Regions from separate parts of the Homo sapiens genome. Here regions 2, 3 and 4 are each linked to region 1. Evidence: promoter capture Hi-C in 16 types of primary human blood cells and fetal thymus (Javierre and others, 2016). All regions are on one chromosome and are shown on one strand. Each heading gives the region's core, a stretch centred on a gene start or on the middle of the fragment in contact. The rest is flanking DNA. Distances are from core to core; before and after follow the strand shown. Region 1 holds the start of ARF5 (ARF GTPase 5). Region 2 holds the start of IQUB (IQ motif and ubiquitin domain containing). Region 3 holds the start of NDUFA5 (NADH:ubiquinone oxidoreductase subunit A5). Region 4 has its middle 5.7 kb from the start of WASL-DT.

Evidence for each region. Contacts are between HindIII fragments. The CHiCAGO score rates a contact against its expected background, and 5 or more counts as called.
Region 2: a contact is called between the fragment with the promoter of IQUB here and the fragment with the promoter of ARF5 in region 1, in 4 of 17 cell types (non-activated CD4 T cells, total CD4 T cells, total B cells and 1 more). The highest score is 12.2, in non-activated CD4 T cells.
Region 3: the fragment with the promoter of NDUFA5 here is called in contact with the fragment with the promoter of ARF5 in region 1 in 1 of 17 cell types (total CD4 T cells); the score reaches 7.6 in total CD4 T cells.
Region 4: a fragment that was not itself captured here is called in contact with the fragment with the promoter of ARF5 in region 1 in 1 of 17 cell types (M0 macrophages); the score reaches 5.3 in M0 macrophages.

The regions. Positions count from the first base shown.
Region 1 is chr7:127,585,175-127,590,424 of GRCh38, reverse strand. It overlaps ARF5 (ARF GTPase 5), which reads right to left and starts at 2,014. Exons shown (of 6, transcript NM_001662.4): 1 at 1,860-2,014; 2 at 1,262-1,342; 3 at 831-940; 4 at 288-359. The coding sequence starts at 1,926. It overlaps LOC105375490 (a long non-coding RNA gene), which reads left to right and starts at 579. Exons shown (of 5, transcript XR_007060511.1): 1 at 579-669. GCC1 (GRIP and coiled-coil domain containing 1) reads left to right here and starts at 4,829. Exons shown (of 2, transcript NM_024523.6): 1 at 4,829-5,250. The coding sequence starts at 5,243. It overlaps LOC105375489 (a long non-coding RNA gene), which reads left to right. Exons shown (of 3, transcript XR_007060513.1): 3 at 474-556. RefSeq lists enhancers at 688-1,313, 1,314-1,940, 1,941-2,566, 2,567-3,193, 4,711-4,760 and 1 more and a silencer at 1,688-2,177. The HindIII fragment of the contact is 7,240 bases long and covers 1-4,616 here.
Region 2 is chr7:123,533,209-123,538,458 of GRCh38, reverse strand. IQUB (IQ motif and ubiquitin domain containing) reads left to right here and starts at 3,864. Exons shown (of 13, transcript NM_178827.5): 1 at 3,864-3,967. It overlaps LOC124901740 (a long non-coding RNA gene), which reads right to left and starts at 3,928. Exons shown (of 2, transcript XR_007060507.1): 1 at 3,034-3,928; 2 at 2,200-2,854. NDUFA5 (NADH:ubiquinone oxidoreductase subunit A5) reads left to right here. Exons shown (of 5, transcript NM_005000.5): 5 at 1-1,462. RefSeq lists an enhancer at 2,978-3,117 and silencers at 3,188-3,317, 3,398-3,547, 3,568-3,797. The HindIII fragment of the contact is 3,094 bases long and covers 1,408-4,501 here.
Region 3 is chr7:123,555,328-123,560,577 of GRCh38, reverse strand. It overlaps NDUFA5 (NADH:ubiquinone oxidoreductase subunit A5), which reads left to right and starts at 2,760. Exons shown (of 5, transcript NM_005000.5): 1 at 2,760-2,803; 2 at 3,130-3,174. The coding sequence starts at 2,783. RefSeq lists enhancers at 2,283-2,422, 2,683-2,732, 2,473-3,051, 2,288-3,487, 3,052-3,630. The HindIII fragment of the contact is 10,047 bases long and covers 1,762-5,250 here.
Region 4 is chr7:123,752,243-123,757,492 of GRCh38, reverse strand. No RefSeq gene overlaps it. Among named protein-coding and RNA genes, the nearest start is that of WASL-DT, 5.7 kb to the right of the region's middle. The HindIII fragment of the contact is 3,335 bases long and covers 1,618-4,952 here.

The DNA of each region.
Region 1 (5,250 bases), core at 765-3,264:
GGAGACGGAGGTTGCAGTGAGCCGAGATTGCACCATTGCACTCCAGCCTGGGCAACAACAGCAAAACTCCCATTTCAAAAAAAAAAAAAGACAAGACAATGCACAGAAAAAGTGAAAAAGTCACTCCCATCCAAAACAGGGTGAGATACACAATGTGTCTGTCCACAAAGAAAAACTTATATTCCTGGTCTTCAATGCCTGTTGGGGGCTCCCTGACTTCTATACCACTACAGAGATCACTCTGTCCCCAAGCTGAGGGCTCAGTTCCCAGGGCTCTGGGTACTCACCATCTTCTGGAGTTCATCAGCAGATTCTTGGACCCGCTCCCGGTCATTACTGTCCACCACAAAGATGAGGCCCTGGGCAGGAAGGAAGGAAGAAAGGAGAAGCAATCACTTCTGCCTGGGACATACCGTAGTGTGGCCCTTTCTGTTTTCTTCCCATTTGTAATTGTGTCAATCCTTCTCATCTAGTAAACTCTACAGAAGTTTACAGAACTCTATAGAAGCTCTACAGGAGTCATGGCACAAACTAGAGACCCCACTGCAAAGAGGAAGTAGTTTATCCAAAGATGTGCAAGGAAATAAAGACATGTTATGAGGGCTAAATCAGGCAGCCTGGTCCCAGAATCCTGCTTCTAAAGAGAAGTCCAAGCTGGGGAAGACTAAGGTGAGTTCTGAAGAGTGAGTAGGGGATAGCCAAACAGAAGGGGTAGAAGTGGGGAAGGGTTTTTTCCTTGGCCTGGGGGCCCAGCCTAGGCCAACAATTCTGTTCTCCCAGCCCTAACACCTTTTCCCGTGGGGTTAGAAAGTCCCCTCCCAACACTCCACCTGAGTGTTCTGGAAGTAGTGCCGCCACAGAGGCCGAATCTTGTCCTGGCCTCCCACGTCCCAGACTGTGAAACAGATGTTCTTATATTCCACTGTTTCTACATTGAAGCCTGCAGATAATTGGAAAAAAAAGATGAGAAAACTCCTGAAAGAAAGGAACTCACTAAAACTACTTAGATTTCAGCAGGGACACAAAACCAGAAGGCAATGATCAAGGCCCAGGGGAACAGAACCCCAGAACTGGCGGTCAACAGGGCGGGGCTAGGTCACATCCACCCTGCCTCCGGTATCCACGTAGAGATACCCTGACCCACTTCTCAAATAGCTGTATCTGGTGTCAGGGTCAGCTCCAGAAAAGTGGCAGAACTGGGAGCAGACCCCGCGAGGGCCCGCCGCGGCGCTCCCGCTCCCTGCTTCGTCCCCGGGCTCACCTATGGTTGGGATGGTGGTGACAATCTCCCCCAACTTCAGTTTGTACAGGATTGTGGTCTTGCCAGCCGCATCCAAGCCAACTGCAACGGAAAGGGGCACAGGGATGGAGATGGGAGCGAGGGAGCCCCCTAGAGACCAGGGAAAGGGAGAGGCCACAACAGCTGATGGTGACTGGGGCGGAGAGCGGGAGCGCCTCCAGGTGCGCGTCGTTATCTACCTTTGAGGCCTGGAGGGCAGTCGGGTGGCGTGAGCCAACTCCAAAGAGGGCGCGGAGCGGGAGAGGACTGGGAGGCAAGGGGCACGGGAGGTAGGCCGCGCTCGTTTTAAAAGTCGTCTCCAAGGGCGGAATCCTCCCTTCTTACCAGCCGGGCTGGGGCGGAGGGAGCTTCACCCCACCCAGGCCCGCAGCTCCGGGTGTCAGGCCCCGGGGTCGGCGATGCAGACCGGGACCCGCCCGAGAGCAGAGGCCCCGGGGCGTTATGAGGTGGGTGACTCGGGGCCAGAGACCCAGGTGAGCGGGGCTGGAGGGACGCGGGGGCGGAAGGGCTGCGCCGGGGCCGGCGCCCCGGTCCGGGCCGCGCGCTCGATCTGCCTCACCCATGAGAATCCGCATCTGCTTCTTCCCGAAGATCCGCGAAAAGAGCGCGGACACGGTGAGGCCCATGGCGGGGCCCGGGGAGGGGCGCGGGCACCGACGCGGGGTGCGGGCTGGAACTGGCCGGCCGCGGGGGGATGGGGCGCAGCAGCAGCAGGAGGAGGCTCCGCCGCCGCCTCCGCGCGTCGCTGCCCTCCCGACGTCACCGCGGGCCCGCCCCCGTCCGGGCCCCGCCCCCGGCTCTCGGCCCCGCCTCCCCCGGCTCTGGCTCCTAGGGGAGCTGAAGCTCCGCGAGTTGCCGCTGCTGGCCTGGGTCCCGTGCGGCCCTTACTTGGGAACGGGTCTAGGTCTCTAACGCGCCTGCCAGGCCTGTGGCCGCCGAACCGGCAGCCCGAGCGCGGCTGAGGAAAGGATTCATCGCTCCGCAGCGGCCCCTGCCCCCATTTTCAGTGGCCGGCCGCTGGGCTTTGGTTTGTTGCGTCCAGGCCCCTAGGGGCTCCGGTTTTAGCCCTTGGGAACCAGTAGCACTGAACGTGTGCACCACTCTCCTTTGGGGAGTGGAAGCTGCGATTAGGGGTCTTGGTCCTCCCTTTACTGCCTCATCTTCCACCGAGGGACTTGCGCGTAGTAGGTGGTCGTGTGAAGAGTGCGCGGGAGGTAGGGGAAGGTGCCCGAGTGCTAGCTAGCTTCCATGGTTCCTCAAAACGCCTACTTCCTAATTCCCAATCCGCAGAACCAGTGTAAGATTCCCGGCCTTGGGCGGCGGGGTCACAGACCCACTCCTGGGCTGTTGGAGAAGTCCACCTTCGTTTGGATCGCCCTGCGGGCCCCGCCTCTCAGTCCAGGCGCTGGCCGCTTTGCCGAAGTTCCTCACTTTGCCACAGACTTGTGGACCTGGCTTATTCTTGCACATCCATTCAGGATTTTGTGAAGATCTTGACTCCGTAGACCCAAAGAGCTTCACATGTCATTTCCCTGCCTCATTTTAACATCTGAGAGGAGAATAGCAAAATAGGAATGAAATTCTTCTGCGGTGGAGACTGGCTCATTGCCAGGCATTATTAGGCCTAACAAATGCTTGTTCAGTTGAACTGGACTGATAGATTCTCAATGGAGCGAGGGTAGGTGTTATGTCTACTCTGGATTCCCAGTGGGCTTCTAGGATCAATTGTTTATGGACTCGAGGTAAACTGAGCTGGGAATAAAAAAACCTTCACTCATTCATTTGCTTTTTCAGCAGATATTTACTGAGCACCCACCACTTGCCAGCACGTGATTTCAGGCTTTAGTTCAAATCTTAATTCTGCCATTTCTTGAGGATTTGGCTTCAGCACTCCTCATAACTCTTCCGTTATTTCATCATCTATAAAATGAGACTTGTTCTAACTTAAGGGGTTATGGTGAATCTTAAAATGATTTGATAATGTGACTGAATGTTATGTATAATACAGCTTGATGTTATTTGGGCCACTGAGAAACGGGGTCTGAACAGACCTCCAGGGCCTGCCCCATCCTGATCTGCAAAGTCTGTAACAAGGACAGACTTTGGGAAACAGGTATGAGTGAGTGAATGACTTTCCTTTTCTCTTCAGTCATAGACTTGCATCCCTAAGAAGGCTTTTACGAGGCTGAAGAGTACATTTTAGAGAGTTCCAATATAATAACAGAACTAGTGTTCACCAAGTTAGGTCAATTCTACATTTAGCTCTTTTATCAGCCTCTTTGCTTCCATCTCTGTTGTCACTACCTTCTGTTCCCCATGACTGAAAGTCTCCTCACAGGTTTCCTGCCCCTTGTTCCCTCCAACATGTCATACAAGTCTTGATGACATCCCACTTTTCAGATTAAAATCCATTAGGGCCTTACTATAACCCAAGATAAAATTTAAATGCCATAAGTTGGGTCCCTACCTATTGTGCCAGCCCCTCTGTTGTCACCTCCTTCACATACCCTAAGCTACTGAATGCTTTCTGGGTGAGTCAAACTCCGATACCCTACAGGTCTTTGCATTTTTTTCCACCTGCCTGGAATGCTAGTTTCCCTGATCTCTGGTTAGGTGGACAATCACGACTCATCCTTCAAATCCCAAAGTATTATTCCCAAGAGCCTTCCATGCCTCACCTAGACAGGCCTCTTTCCTCTTAACTTTCATACCACTTTGAATATACCCAGACATACTGGTGTGATAGCAGGACATATTTGTATGTCTGGTTCCTCACTAGATTGCGAGCTCCCTGAGGGCAAGGTCGTGTCTCTTAATGGTGTTACCATCTGGCACAGCACGTGATACGTTGAGAATCAGACTGATTAGAACTCCTAAACTTACTAGCTGTGTGACCTTGGGCATGTTACGTATAACCTTTCTGCCTCATGTTTTCATATCTGTAAAATAGTGCTAATGAGTATAGTGCTTACAAGAATTACTGTAAAGACTAAATAGCAAAACTCTTGTGAGCTCCTGGTATATAGCTGGCACTCAGGATAGACATGGCTATAGAGTGCCCTCCGTAAATATTTGTGGAATCAACTCAGCAGAACTAAGGAAGGGTACTATTAGGCTGTATGCCTACTAGGTACCAAGCACTGTGCTATAGAGGACTGCAGTTTTCGTGGTCTAAATGGGAGTCTTAATTGTTGCCTTTTAGGGACCATGGGTCCTGAGCTCCCAAATCGTTGGATGCGTCGTTCACCTGGGTGTTTGGTAAGAATGCAGTGCGACGTTGCTCTGTCGCTCGCTGAGCGTAGCCCGAGGTCAAGCTTGGGCGCTCTCACAAAACCGGTGCCACTCTGGTGTCTTCGACTTTGCTGGCTTCGCCTTTCCCAAGCCTGTTTTTTGCCGCTCGCGGCCCCACTGCGTTCTCAACAGGCCGCGCCCACCCACCGGCCGACTTGGCCCCGCCTACCTTGGGCCCACTGGGGGCGGAGCCTGCGGCGCCTCGCTGACGTCACTTCCAGCGGACACGGAAGCGCCGTTGTCGGCAGGCAGCTTTAGTTAGGATGTCGTGATGGGACCGAGCTCAGCGTAACCCTCTGGCCGACGTGGGCCGAGGGGGCCGGCCCGGGCTGCTGTGGCCCAGACGAGCGGAGAGTGCGGAGCGGCTTCTGGGCCAGCGCTAACGAGCCCTGGCAGTGCGCACCTCTGGTGCCAGTGTCGCCCCGCCTCCGGGGTAGAATCCGCCCCAGCCCTCCGGGCCTGGGACCGGGCGGCCGCTTTCGCCAGTCCGTCCGGCCGTTCCGCATTAGGTCCGGGATAACTAGGTGGAGTAGGTGTGCGGCCCGCCGCCGGACAGCCCGCTCGCTGTTTCTTTAAGCCCCCGCCTGCGTCTTCACGGCCCTCTCCCGTTCTGCTGGAAAGCTGACGTGGGGCAATCCGTTCAGACCCTCCATGGAGAA
Region 2 (5,250 bases), core at 2,615-5,114, 4.1 Mb after region 1:
AGGAGGTCGACGTTTTATTTTAGACAAAATTCACAGGAAATCACAGTGGGAATGTGATAAGGGGTTTGAATGATTGATGGGGACAGGAAGAATTCATTTGAGAGACTAGAGATGAGTCAGTATTCTAGATCGTGAAGTAAAATAGTGAGTCATGTAGTGACTTAGCATGGGTTATCCTTAAATCCCAGTGTCTTAAGTGTATTTTTTATTCATACTGCATGTCTAAGGAGGGTTGGCAAGGAGTGCTCATAGACCCACAAGGAATCCAGGCTGAGTGTGGCACCATCAACATATATTTCCATGACCATAGTGGTGGTGGGGAATTGGAACATGGTAAATTACACATAGGAATAAAAAAAAAGAAACAACCAAGGTTAAATTTTTTTTTGACTGTGCCACAAAATTTATGAATTGAACTTGCCATGCATCACTAATAATTTTCAAATTGGTCTTTAGGTTTACATTAGCAGCTAATTTTTTGTGGTACACTTAAATGTAATTTATGATTGGCATCTGTATATAATTAAATGAAAAGCATTGCAAAGATTTCTATTTTGGTATTTCTCATGATCTTCAATTTTTTTTTAGGTGAATCTATTAGGTTTTCTAAAGATAACTATTTTTTTTTTTTTACAAAATATTGGCATTTTAATCTCTCTATAACTGGAGGGTGAATTATTTTTCACCAGAGTAAAACAGGTCCAAAGTCCCTTATCTAAATTCCTAATTTCAAAAATCTCTGAAAACAAAGTTTTTTCATAACTCATTTGGCAACAAACCCCACCTGAATTACATGAGGCTATTTGTGGTATTTATCGCACTTCAATGTGAATATGAATATATTTTGCCACAGATGTATCAATATATTTGATTCTAAACTGCTTCCTCAGACCCTCTTAATGTGTTACATAATGTAAAGTATATGCCCATATTTCCTTTCAAAAATCTGAAAAATTGTGAATATCAAACACATCTGTCTTAAAAGGTTTCAGAAAAGGGACAATAGACCTATATTTCCATTCTCTTAACAAGTTCACAAAGTGGTATTATGATCCAAATTTAATCTAAATAATTTCCAAAACAAAAATTTTCAGGTCCTTAGTTTTCTAAATTATTTTAATATTAAAAATATTCATTATTCATTTTAACCTGTAGTAACAACAGGAGATACTTTGAAATGCTTGATTTTATCAAGCCACTAGGTGGCATCTTTGTAAAAATAAAAGCACATCAAAAGAAATGTTTATTACATAAATAAATGCTGAGATGAATAAAGGTAGATGTTTCATGAGAAATACGAAGTCGTTTGGTGGAATAAATCCTGAGAAAATGCATAGATTTATCATGAAAAGGAAAATGGAAAATGGTATTGTAAAATTACTCTTTCACTTTTGGAATTGAGAAGCTTTTTCCTATTGGTTGTTTTCATTAAGTTTGAATATAAATTTATTATGTAACCAAACTACATTTGTGTGTATGTGCGTGTATGTGTGCGTGGACAGGATTTTGACATGCTAATAACTTTTCCATGCTCCACAGACTACCCAAGGAAGCCTAACTAAGTTAGGTTCCTATTTAAGATTAAATTGTATAAAGTCATCCTCACAGCAAACTACAAAAAAAAATGAATAGTGGCTATCAAGTCACATTTAACACTGTGAGACACTTAAGTTCTCTCCTACCAGTTTTTCTTCCCCCATCTCCTGACTCTATTCCTAAACCTACTGTTTGCATACCGTCTCTAACATTGAGAACAGTGAATGACAAATTTTAAAGAGGAGACCCAGCAAAGTGAATGTTTAAAACCAGTGGAATGTTTATTAGTAGCAGAATGTAAGATAAATTATGATTTTGGAGATGGGAGTGTATGAGTGTTTGTAAAATCTTATCTGCACACCTCCACACCTGGTCTACCCATCCAAGAAAGCCTAATTCTAGTGGTTACCTCTATGCCCATTTTTCCCCTTTACTTTTCATGAATGTGTGGAAATGATTAAAATGAATTTACTTTTACTGATCATTATTAAAACAAAGCCAATTTTATCTGAATATATATTTCACTATTCTAGTAAAAATATATTTTAAAATGGGATGACTGAAAAAAATGGCATTGGATATTACAAAGTTATTGGGGAGATGAGAGTGCAATTTCAGCAGAACAGTATAAAGAAATAAATGAAGACAATGAACATTTATGAATAAGGGAATGGACCTGTATTAATTTTATTAATCCTTTTAACATATCAAATCAAATTAAACAGTACTGTAATGGTTAAAAAATCTGGGACCTGGAGTTAGATTGCTTAGGTTTAATCCTGGTTCCCTCATTAAACTTTGTGTGCCTTAGTTTTCTCATTTACAAAATGGGTCTAATAGCAGTTTCTCCCTAATAAAATCGTTGTAAGGATTAAATTAGAAATCTATGTACGGTGCCTCATGACAATGAATACTTCATAAATGTTAGCTGCTATTATGAGATAGCAACATGTAGTTTGTTACTAAATTTCCAAGAGGAACATACTTGACTTGACCTCCAATACTATCCTGTGGTTCTTTAAAAGTTTTCTTATTCATTGATAGGCCGGGCGCGGTGGCTCACTCCTGTAATCCCCAACACTTTTGAAGGCGGATTGCTTGAGGCTAGGAGTTCCAGATCAGCCTGGCCAACATGGTGAAACCCCATCTCTACTAAAAATACCAAAATTAGCCGGGGGTGGTGGCGGGCGCCTGTAATCTCAGCTACTCAGGAGGCTGAGGCAGGAGAATCGCGGGAGCCAGGGAGGTAGAGGTTGCATTGAGCCGAGATCGAACCACTGCACTTCAACCTGGGCGACAGAGCAAGACTCTGTATACACTAGAAAAAAAAAAAAAAAAAAGAATTTGTTGTTAGACAAAATTTAGTTTATTAACTAATTTAGTGATTAACAAAAGTTCTTCTAAGCAGAATTATTTGATAGCTACTATCTCCCTTTTCTCTTTGGCTGCCAGGAAGCTGAGAGCCAAGTTGTTAGTTTAACAAAAGCAAGTAGGCACCTGACAGTTTCTCGCCTCTGACTTCATCGTGATGATTTCTCTGACTCGGATTTTTTTTATATCTGTAAAATTAAACTGCTGTCAGTGTTTGGTTTAGAGAGCTGTGCCGTTTCACAAGTGTAAAAGATCTTGGAGAGAAGTTAGTGTCCTGATTCACTTGGATCTAGGTAGCCAGTTGGTAACAGCCTCCGCCTCTGGCTCCTCCCCTTCTCCCTGCCGCGTCCCTCCTCCCCGCCCCTTCGCCTCTGGCCCCGCCCCTTCTCCCTGCCGCTTCCCTCCTCCACGCCCGCTCGCCTCTGACTCCTCCCCTTCTCCCTGACGCGTCCCTCTTCCTGTCTCTTCGCCTCTGGCTCCTCCCCTTTCTCCTGCCATGTTTCTTCTCCCCGCCCCCTCGCCTCTGGCTCCTCCCCCTTTTCCCTATCGCGTTCCTCCTTTGCAGCCCCCATCCCCCTCCTCTGGCTCCTCTTCTTCCCTACCGCGATCCTCCTTCCAGACCCCGGCCCCCAGCCCGCCTCTAGCTCCTTCCCTTATTTCCTGCCGCGCTCCTCCTTCCCGACACCGCCCCTCCGCCTCTGGCTACTCCTCTTCTCTCCTGCCGCACTCCTCCTTCCCGGCCCCACCTCCCCGCCTCTGGCTCATCCCCTTCTCTTCTGCCGCCCTCCTCCTTCCCGGCCCCGCCCCCAGTCTTTGGCTCCTCCCCCTACCCTGCCGCGCTCCTCCTTCCCGGCCCCTCCCCGCTGCCCTCTTCTGGCTCCTCCCCCCCACCCGCCTCTGGCTCCTCTCCTTCCCACCCCTGCCGTGCTCCGGCAGGAAGAGGTGGTGCCAGGGCCGTTGCTAGGATACGACCAACAGCTGAGAACGCGGCGAGTATGGAAGCTGCGTCTTAGGAGCCTGGGAAAGCACTTCGACGAGAATAGTTTGGTTTCGTACACAGGTAGGAGAACAGATTTTGACTGCGGCCTCCTGGTCCGACGCTTAGATCCAGCCTAGAGCCGGTGACAGCCGCGCTGGACTCTGGGTTCTGTGTGCTGGGCAGTGATTCCCACCTGAGCGCCTGGGGCTGCCTAGTCGGTCAGGAATGTTCCGACTTTACTTTAAAAACCGTGCGAAGCATCTCATCTTTCTCGGCTCCTTTTTTGGCTTCCCCTCTCTGATTTGGGACTTGAACCAGCAGCATCAAGCTAGGAGGTACACCTCACCTCACACCCTGGGTGCTTGTCACGGTAATTGCATAGAAGATGTGTGTATAACCCACACCTGGCACTAGAGACTCTTAGCCTTCCGTGGCCACCATTCTCATATTAAGTCGAGAGATTTTAGACTTTCCTCACCTGGCACTCTCACTCCTTCCTCTCCACCCTTGGTCTTTGCCTCTTAACAAACCTAAAAATTCAACAGATCTATTTGGTAGAAGGCAATACTGGATCCCTGCCTCACTAATTATACTACATTCTAAATGTGTTAAGCTTTAAATGGTAGGGAATGAAATGTAGGTGAAAAGGGAGACTTTTTTGTATGCAAACATGATAGAGGTTGCTTTTTAAACAATAAGATTTAAACATTTTCATTTGAATAGATAATACATAAAAAAATAGTTCGAATAGTAAAAAGAATGAAGAGTGAAAATCCTCCATCTACCCATTTCTCCCCATCTCCAGGCCACCTTCCACAGGTGTTTTAGACATACGCAAATATGTAGTTACACCTGTAACATTGTGCATACTCTTCTGTGATTGGCTTTTACACTTAAGACTGTGTGTCCAGTTGTTTTCTATCAATATTTACAGATCTGTCTCATTTATGCATTTATGGATGAATTTATGTATTTATGTTTCATTGTGAGAAGGTGTTTCGAAGCATGTCAGGAAATTTGGAAACTCTCATAAGCAAAAAGATTGATAAATGTCACTACCTAACAATCTAAAACTTTTATATAGTAAGAGAAAAACAACATCAAACATACAATGGGAAATATAAGGGCAACACACAACAAAGGGATATTTAATTATTAGGACTCATAAAACAATATGAGGATGTAAGGAAACAGTCAAGGGGAACTTCTTGGGGCTATAATAGAAAACAGTTTGATGGAATTTAACAAAATTAAGATCTGTATGCCCTTTGACTTGTCCATTCTAATTCTGGGAACTCATTTTCAGTATACTTACACATATATACAGAGATAGATGTATAAAATGTTTGTTGCAGCACTATTTT
Region 3 (5,250 bases), core at 1,511-4,010, 4.0 Mb after region 1:
ACTGTGAGAAATACATTTCTGTTGTTTAAGCCACCTCATCCATAGTATTTTGTTATGGCAGCCTGAGCTGACCCTGATAGATCACGTATAATGTAACTTTGCTGAAGTTATTTGTTTTAATTGTATGTATGTGTGTATTCCTTAATAATCCTATATAAAAGATTATGCAACTGTGAATAGAGATAGTTTTACTTTTTCCTGTCTCTTCTGGATGACTTTTATTCATTTTATTTTCTTGCCTAATTCCCTTAGCTAATATTTCCAATATATTGTTGGATAGAAGTGGTGAGAGTGGAAAAATATTTGTCTTGTGAATGATCTTAGCAGAAAAGAATTGCCTTTCACTCTTAAGTATGATGTTGTGGGGTTTTTCTAAGCATCTTTATCAGGTTGAAAAATTTCTCTTCTTTTCCCAGCTTGTTGTGTGCTTTTATCATGAAAGCATGTTGAAATTTGTCCAATGCTTTTTCTGCATCTATTAAAATTATCATATAGTTTTTGTCCTGTATTCAATGGTACATTAGATTAATTGATTTGGGGATGTTAAACCAACTTTGTATTTTTGAAATAAATATCATTTATTTGTGGTGTATAATTTTTTTTTCATATGCTACTGAATTTGGTTTGCTAGTACTTTTCTGAGTATTTTGTGTTTATTAATAAGGGATATTGGCCTGAAGTTTTATTTTCTTTTTTCTTTCCTTTTTTTTTTTTTTTTTTGTGAGACGGAATCTTGCTCTGTCACCCAGGCTAGAGTGCAATGGCCCAATCTTGGCTCACTGCAACCTCTGCCTCCTGAGTTTGAGTGATTCTCCTGTCTCAGCCTCCAGAGTAGCTGAGATTACAGGCACACACCACAAGGCCTGGCTAATTTTTGTATTTTTAGTAGAGAGAAGGTTTTGTCATGTTGGCCAGGCTGTCTCAAACCCTTGACCTCAGGTGATCCTCCTGCCTCAGCTTCCCAAAGTGCTGGGATTACAGGCATGAGCCACCAGGCCCAGCCGAAGTTTTCTTTTCTTGTTGATTTCTTTGTCTGGTTGGAATCAGAGTCCACACCTGGCTGAAGTTTTTGTTTCTTGTTGATTTCTTTGTCTGGTTGGAATCAGAGTAATACTTGCCTTATAGAATTAGTTGTTAATTGTTTCCTCCTCTTCTATATTTTGGAATAGTTTCTTAAGTGTTATTCTTTAATTGTTCAGTGGAATTTACCAGCGAAGCCATCTGGACCTGTGCTTTTCCTTCTGGATAGGTTTTTTTTTTTTTCTTGCTAATTCAATTTCTTTAATTATGTTAGATCTAGTCAGATTTTTCTTTATGCCTTCTTGAGTTGATTTAGGTAGTTTGTGTTTTTCTAGGAATCTGGCCATTTTATCTACTTTATCTTTTTTAAGCATAGTTGTTCATAGTATTCCTTCTTATTCCTGTTTATTTCAGCAAGGCTATTAGTGATGGTTCTTTTATTCTTGCTTGTATTAAATCTTCTCTCTTTTTTTTCTTAGTTTCACTAAAGGTTTGCCAATTTTGTTGATCCTTTTAGGGAACCAATTCCTGGTTTCATTGATTTTCTTTATTGATATTCTGTCTCCTTCTTTTCTAATCTTTAATATTTCCTTTCTTCTGTTTGCTTTTGGTTTAGCTTTCATTTTTTCTAGTCTCATGCCTCTAATGAAAGGCCTCATCTCTTCCAACTCATTCTCTTCAACTGTTGCCTAAGTTGTTTGTATATCTGAAACATAAATTTGATGGTGTCACTTAGAAGCTTAAAAGTCTTCTCATTGTTCCCATTCCTTAAAAAGTAAAATTCAAATTTTGTATAATGGCAAACAACACCTTTCATAATCTTAACCAGTTTACCTTAACAATCAAACCCACCTTTCCAATCACATAAAATCACCTGGAATTTATATATACATTTTTAACCTCTTTTCCTTTGTACTTGTGTTTTCTCAATTTGTTCTTTTCTCCTACTGACTTTTTAGAAAGTCACCCACGCTTTTTAGTTATTTCCTTTTCCCTGGTACCATCACACTTTGCATCAACTTCTTTTAGAACAGTTACCAAATTATTTATTAATACACGCCTTCTTCATTATTCTTTGAATTCCAGGATGTGAAATCCCATTTTAGAAATTATGTCCCAGTAACTGACACATAGTGAGTGGTCAGTGTTTGTGGAGGTAGGAAAAAGTGGTATGGTCTGATATCATTTCATCTGGAAATAAGATGATGTATTTCAGCCAGTGAAATCGAAAAGAGCGATGGAAAATGACCTCACACTCCATAGGGCTTTGGTTCGTAAGACACAGAGAATACTGATATCCTTGTGCGAAGAACTAACTTGCTGTTGAGAGATCAATTCAGAGGATGCTCAAGCTCCGTTATCACTTTCATTTTACTAAACTGAGAAAGGAAGGTTGAGGAATGCATCAACGGTTAAGCACAGTGCAGGTTCCTACAGCGACTGGAGTTTTTTGGTAGTTGGGAGTGTTTCCCTCAATCTTTGGGCAAGCCGTCAGCAGTGGCAGGAACAGGAACAGACAGCTGGGAAACCCTTTCTTTCCCCAATCGTCTTCTAGCTTAGCTTTAGGCTTGTATGCCCATCGCGCATGCGTCAATTTTTCTCTTTTAAGATGGGCGGGGCAGAGTCTTTGCTCCTTTGGCGATCCTGAAGGGGTGGAGCTAAGCTGTTTCCAGGGTGACAGAGTGGCGACCTCGGTGGTCGATTGAGCAGGTCTGAGAATTGTTCCCAAAGGGTTGTGCGTCACCGAGTCGTTGGCGCTGTCATGGCGGGTGTGCTGAAGAAGGTGAGACGAATGGAGGTCACTGTTGGAATTTAGACTGTGGGGGTAGACTCAGTCCGATAGCCCTACTTCCCGCGGGTGTTGACCCCTACTGTCGCGGGCTCGGCGGTGCTTTTCGGGGACTCGTTCTGCATGCCTTACCGGGTAGGGCAGGTTAGTGGTTCCGCTCCGAGAGTCAGGAAAAAAGCTCCAAACAAGCGAGACTGAGAGACCAGTAGCTGGCTTTAGACCAGTTTTAGCCGGGGGATTCGTGGTTTTGTATTTCCTTAGCGTGCTGGATGTATGGAAACCGTAGTAAACAGCATGAATCGTGTTTTGTTTTTGAACAGACCACTGGCCTTGTGGGATTGGCTGTGTGCAATACTCCTCACGAGGTATGTACCTTTGTTCTTTCTTCGTTCTTGAATTCCCAAGGAAGACTAAATTCCTGTCACTTTGCTTATTGCAGGGTTAACGGGATACAGATGTTTCAAGCCCTTAATTACAAGCCGCGTGAGCTCTTGAGACACGGGCGCTGTCCACCTACTTCGTTGATCCGATGTCACATTTTTATTTATTTTTGCCATGACCTCTTTATTAAGCCAGTTTTCTTGTTGACTTTTTCCTTGACATTTTCATGGCTTCACTTGTGCTTGCTTCTGTCAGCGCCATCTCAAATTTATATCTCCGTTTTCCATCTTTTCTCCTTGCCTTACCGTTTCTGCTTAGGTGCGTTGGATTACATATATTTAGGCTTACTAAAGGTACTGCCCCCTTTTCCTTCTGTTAGGTCTTTTCCATCTGTATTCACGAATGTTTTCATCAAAAAAACCCACAAAATTTTTTTATTCTTCTTGTCCCTTCTATAATCACACCATTTCTTTGCTTCACTTTACAGATAACTCAAAAGAGTTATCTCTATTTTCTCCAATTTCTTTCTTATTCACCCTTGAATGCACTCAGTCACCCTTGGCGTTTTTCAAGTTCACCAATTATCTCCATGCTGCCAAATCCAATGGTCAGCTCATATTTCTCACCTTCATTGACCTAATAGCAGCGTTTTTTGACACATTTGACACTTTTTCCATCACGCTCTTTTCAAGTTCACCAGTTATCTCCATGTTGCCAAATCCAATGGTCAGCTTATGTTTCTCACCTTCATTGACCTAATAGCAGCGTTTTTTTTTTTTTGACACATTTGACACTTTTTCCATCATGCGCTTTCTTTACTGGGCTTCAGGACTCCCCCAGTCTCCTGATTTTTTCCCCCTACTCTTTGGCTTTCTCTTTTTCTGGTTATTTCTCTTATGCCCACTTTTAAAATTTGAGTTAGTCAGGATTTAGTTCTTGGACCTTTTCTTTTGGACCTGTACTCTGTCACCAAGAGAGAGCAAATCCAAATAGAGAACGGTTTTAAATACCACCTATACACTGACAACAGATTTCCATGTAAAGCACTGACCTCTTCCTTTATAAAAGTCCTGAATATTTAATTGCTTAGTGGGCATCTCTATTTGTATGTGTCAGACAGGCAACCCAAACTTAACATGTCCAAAATGGGGTTCCTGATCTTCTGCCTAAAACCTGCTCTTCTCTCAGTCTTGCTCATCTCAATTAATGGCAGCTCAATTATTTTGACTCAGGTCAGAAACTTGAAATCATCTTTGATTCCTTCCTTTCTCTTACACTCCACATTTGTTATTTCAGTAAACCCTCTAGGTTCCACCTTCAAAATATATCTTGATTTTGACAACATCTCACTACCTCCTCTGCTACTACCCTCTTCCTCAGTCACCATCATCACTGATGTGGATAATTGCATTCACTTCTTAACTGCCTCTCAATGCTTGTCACAGCCTCCATTTGGTCTTTTTTTCCAGCCAGGCTACTAGAGTTAGTCTGTTAAAATATGAGGTAGGTCAGATCTCTCCTTTCCTTAAAACTAATGGCTTTCCATTTCACTCTAAATAAAGACAAGTTTCTTACTGTGACCCTCTGGTTCACTATTCTACTGATTTATTTTGTTATGTCTCTACTAGAATGTAGGTTTCATGAAGGCAGGGATTTGTAATTGTTTCACTGCTAGAACTCTGTCACATAGTATGTGCTCAGTAAATAGTGTTAGTTGAATGAGTGTCTTGCACTTCCTATGATTTCATAATAACTTTATTGTCATTGATGTAAAGAACTGAACTCATGGTTTTTCCCTTCTAAATATATTTCTTCCTCTGTGGGCTGTATTTTTCTTGATAGTTTCAGATCTTTCTACTCCCTAGGCTGGGAATTTGGACATCATAGTTGGTATTTCTCTTATACTTGTACTCTCATATTCATTCCAATGATGATTTTTATTTTTATTTTTTTTGCTGATCCTTTTCTATAACAGCTCTCCAGTCTGACTTCTGTTTACTATTTCTATTGTTACTACCATAGTTCAGGTCCTTGTTCTTGTTTAGAGAATTGCAACAACC
Region 4 (5,250 bases), core at 2,036-4,535, 3.8 Mb after region 1:
GCTATCTCTCAATGGAACTGAGAGCAAAAGAAGACTCTCTAGTAAGTTCAGGCTGAGGTGAGGTAGTGTGTGAATTGTCCCTTATGACACAATAAATCCAAGGGTGCTTGGAGATCCTGAGGAAGATTGGGGTGTTGTATGGACTTGCATTAAAACAGGAAATTGAGACAGGGGAACACGTTTTCCTTCTGTGTGTCAGAACATTATAATGTGCATGCATATAGATACCATCATTATGTGGGAACTGAGTCAACATACCAAGTCAGCCCTGATGCTTGTTATAGCTTTCCTCTTTCATCAGTTCAAAGCTCCAGTCCAACAGAACATATAATAAACACACAATAGCTTCAGTATGAAGAGGATCAAGATGAAAGAAAAGTGCCAATATTCTATCTTCCTAAAAGGAAATTTGAATGTGAGAAAGCGAATATGTAATTTAATTTTTAAACTGATTCTAAGTAAAGATATTGAGAGGAATGACTCCCTAAACTAGGAATGAGGAACTTATTCTAATGTGACCATCGACTCTAAGTTGTTTGCATGTTCAATGTGTTTCCTTCTCTATTAAAAAACAAAACAAAAAAATCAATGAATACTACTAACTTCCAGCCACAGGGAACTGAGAATCATGACTGATGTAACAACTATCAAGTACCATGCAATCCAGTTTTGAATATAAATGGCAAATATTAGATCAATAATTCCATGAAACCACAGTCACCAATTACCCTTCCTTCCTGCTCTGAGGTAACTAAAAGCAGGATTTTTATGTTCTGGGGATTGTATTCTTTACCAATCCCTCTTTCAATAGAGTAGGCTTATGATAAGGCTTATATATTCATTTTCATACCACCAAAAAAGGATTTGTAATAGTGAAAAAGCCATGAAATTGTTTATATTCCCTTATGCACTGCCTTTTACCCATTGCTTTTTAAAATGCAGGATTTTTTTAAAATCCAAAATACATGGGATTGATTATATAATTTTGAGCTGAGAAGGACCTTAGCAATCATTAAGTCATTCCTTTCATTTTACAAATGAGTAAAGAGAAGCATGATGAAGTTGAGTGATTTTAGTAAGATTTCATGGCTAGTTACTATCGGAACTCAGATCAGAAAAGCTATAGCTAATAAATACCTGCTTGCCCTTACAGCTATTTTGCCAGGTGTGAACAATGAAGACATTCCACCTACAGACTCTATCCTATCTAGGTCTTAAACTGACAAGAATAAATCCCAGTGGTTCATTACAAGTTCCGTCCCCTCAAAAGAATATGATTCAAACATAGTTTGTGTAATGCCATAAGCCTTATATGCTTGGGAAAGGGTGGAAGGTGGCTGGTGGGGGTGGTAAATTTCATCCCCTGGAGGTCGTCTTGAAGGTCTACTTATTGGAATCACCAGGAGGGCTTCTTAAAACATAGACTGATGAGTCCTATCCCCAGAGTTTCAGGTTCAGTGGGTCAAGAGTGGGGCCTGAGAATGTGCATTTCTAACATGTGATGCTAATGCTGCTATGAGAACTGCTGGCCAGTCTCCCCCAGTCCATTGGGATGCCAGCCTATTTTTTGTCCTGGTTATTTTCACTTTAGTTTCCAACGCTCCTGGATACTAAGCTTGCTTCCATATGCTTCCAGAGTTGCTTTCTAAGACCAAGTGAAGCCTTGACTTAGTGTTTTTGCAATCACTTCATGCTAAAAACTATTATTCCCCCAAATCCCTAAAATATGACACACATTTCTTTTCTCAGACTAGGCCCCTGGACACCTGAGCTCACTCAGGAGGAAAAAAAAAAAATCACTTTATCCTCTGGACTTGAATTAGGTTGCTGGGTCATCTCAAGTGGAGGTCATTCCTTTCTATTGCTGTTGTCACAAGCCCTGCTCCTGCTACCATTAGGTTGTGTGCAGTTTCTTATGTATTGTGTTTTCTCTCCAGGTGCTCTCAGAATACCACATGCTTAGTACTGTGTGGAAGAGTTTGGGCAAGACTGTGGTTTCTCTTTATTTGATCTCAGATCCTGTGTAACTATCTTTGTACCTGATAAAAATTCATATGTTTTTATTTGAATCAAAGGTGGTCATTTGATCTACAAATATACGTTGAATAATGTATAGGTTCAATGTTAAGACTAAAAAGATACAAAGATGAATAAGACATGATACCAGCTCTTAGAGAGCTTTGAGGCTAATGTAGGAGACAAACATTTAAAAAGTAATTACAATTTACAAATGAAAAGCCTGCATATCACTGACTTTGACAATTTATTATATCAAAATGACTTACTTCAATTTGCTTTAATGAATCAGCTAAATAGCTATTTATAGATAAATGATATCAACGTGTATGAACATATAGTACTAACCCATTCAACCATTACCAACTTTCTAAGGACAAGTAACCTAGTTAATGTGGGGGAAAAACACAGTTCTTATTAAAGACTTTGTATGGAGGCAAAAATAAATAAAGACTATTTACTTCCTAGATACAGAGTTTTACAATTTTATTATGTATGTAATATGCATGTAATTCAGTACACAAAAATGCTATCATCTTGATAAAATTGGAAAGCATTAATATTTCATATTATTGCTTTTTCTTAACAAAGACCCTCTCCCCAGTCATCAAACATCCTGAAGTTCCAACTGTCCCCAGTTGAATTCACTAGCTGCTGAGTACCTTTTGAATACTTTTTCTGTGTTCATGGAATTTCTGACCTTATGAATCCGCAGACCCTTAACAACGAGCCTGAAATCTCCAGCTCTTTTGCAGCTAGGGTACAGGTATGTGACCTTTCCCTCATCAGACACACCCATGGGCAACTGTGATTTGAAAACACATAAAGTGAAGAAGCATGTGGCAAAGGGCAGCAAGGATGGCAGCAGAAACACCCTGCTTTTAGAATCTCAGAAGAGATTCTAGTTTCCAATTCCCAATGTTAGCAGTAAATCTATAGTATCTCTGCCCAGAGATGACCACACTGAAGGGCTCACTGGAGTAGTTCCACAGTGAAACTTGGGTGTGCTTTCTAATTGTATAGAATGAGTCAGAAAATCTGACATTTGACCAACAGGCATTCCAGAAAGCGAAAAGAGAAAAAAGGGGAAGAAAAATATGAAAATAACAAAAGAAAAATTTCCAGCACTAAAAGACATGAGTTTTTGGATAAAAAGGGCCTTTGGAATACCCAGTACAATAAATGTAAAAGTATTCCACTATGGTACATCATCAACTTTCAGAATTCCATAAACAAACAGAATTCTGAAAACTTTTAGAGGTCATAAAGACTTATATACAAAAGATCAGAATCAGAATAACTTCAGATTTCAACAGCAATGTTGAAAGTTCGAAATCAATAAAATAACACCTTCAAATACTGAAGAAAACTGGTATTCAACCTGAAATTTTCTACCCTGTTAAACTAATCAACCAAGAGTGAGATTAGAATAAAACTATCAGCTATGCAAGGTCTCAAAATTTTACTATCTATGCACTTTTTCTTAGGAAGCCACTAAAGGATATACACTATCAAAACAAGGGAGTACATCAAGATGGATGACATAGGTTCCAAGAAACAGAGGGTCTAATACAGAAAGATAAAGGGAAATCCCAGGATAGTAACTCAATAAAATTCCAGACAATAGCCATGTAGCAACAGTACAGATTAATATGGGATGATGGATGGCTTTGGGAGACAGGTCTTTGATTAAAATTAGTGAGTCTAATAGATTCCTGATACACTTGATTATGTGGAAAATAATATGAGGAAGGACTTTATAGTTCTTAATATAGAAGAAATAAAAGAAATAAAATTTAAGCAAATTATTGAGGGGGGTAAAATCCAACAAAGTTAAAGTGGTCCAAGAATGTAACTTCTGTTTTATGCTGTTTTAAGTTTTGTACTACTATTTGATTTTTTAAATTATGTGCATTTATCATTTGTATAAAAATAAAAATTGATTTTAAAAATGTTACATGGTAGCAGAGACCATATCCTTGACCCCAATAATTTCAATGTGGTAATGGGGACATGTGGCATCTTCAAATTTTCCCAAGTATCCAGCCTGCCTACTCATTTATAATGTAGATTGACCTTGAGAACATTACAATAAAGAAATCAATGTTGTTCTCTCTCATTTGGAATAATAATAAGCCATTGAATATTCATTAAAGTTAAAGAGCAGCCAGAAAACCATAAGCAGCATCCTGGGAACTATAACATACTTAGCTCTTCAAATCATTTCTTGATTACAGGTAAGTACTAGGTATTTGGAGACTAGGACATATAATGGTAGTAACTATCACTGGTAATTTTGTAGCATGAATAAGTGTTCAATTTTCCACTAACTTCAATAAGAAATCAGAATGATTTGTAAATAAACTATTTATTCCTAAAAAAGAAAGCCCCAAAGAGGTTTGTAGTTAAAATGAATTTAAAAAGGAGAGGCAGAAAAAAAATGGTGTGCTAGCTTACTTTTCAGAATTTAGTTGATGAAAAAGAAAACAATTAACATTTAACTTGGGATAACATGTACTAGAATAAATTCTTGTAAGCATTGCCATATGCAACATTTACATAAAAATGTGCAGATATTTTACAAGACGAACATTTTAGACACATGACATTTCTGGAGGTTGCATGGGAGAAGTAGCACTCATTGCCCCTGCACTTTTTCTGCAAATCCAGATTTGCAGTATTCAGATTTGCTGTTGTTCTGTCTCTATAAAATCAGTTCTGCCATAGCCAAGCAGCAATTATGGCTACAATGGCTGCTGAATGCCGTGTGCTTTCAGCCACCTTTATATTCCCCCACAGTAAAGGGTGTCACTACATTTTAAATTATTAACATTAGCAAGGGGAATAGGGTGTTTCAGAGGACTTTTAACAGTACATAAACAATGACATTTGTAAAGAAGAAAAATATATAACAAAGAACCGTAACAAGAGAAGCTTGCAAAGTACCCATAAGGATAACAGCAGGAATGTATCTGAAAATATGCTCTCATTTCCATAATAAGCTACCCTAATGTTTTCTGTTAAAATGAGGGCTTTACCTTAAAAGATCATACCAAAGAAAGAAGAAAATGAAGTACTAGAATAGATGCTAGTTGAGGTAAGGAGAGTCAAATGGAAGAAATTAAATGTAAGAATTGCCTTTTTTTTGTTATATTCATATACACCGTAATAAAGCTTTTTTTCACAGCCCTCTCCCACTACTCTTTCCTGTCTTCAAAATAGGTTGGTGGTCTA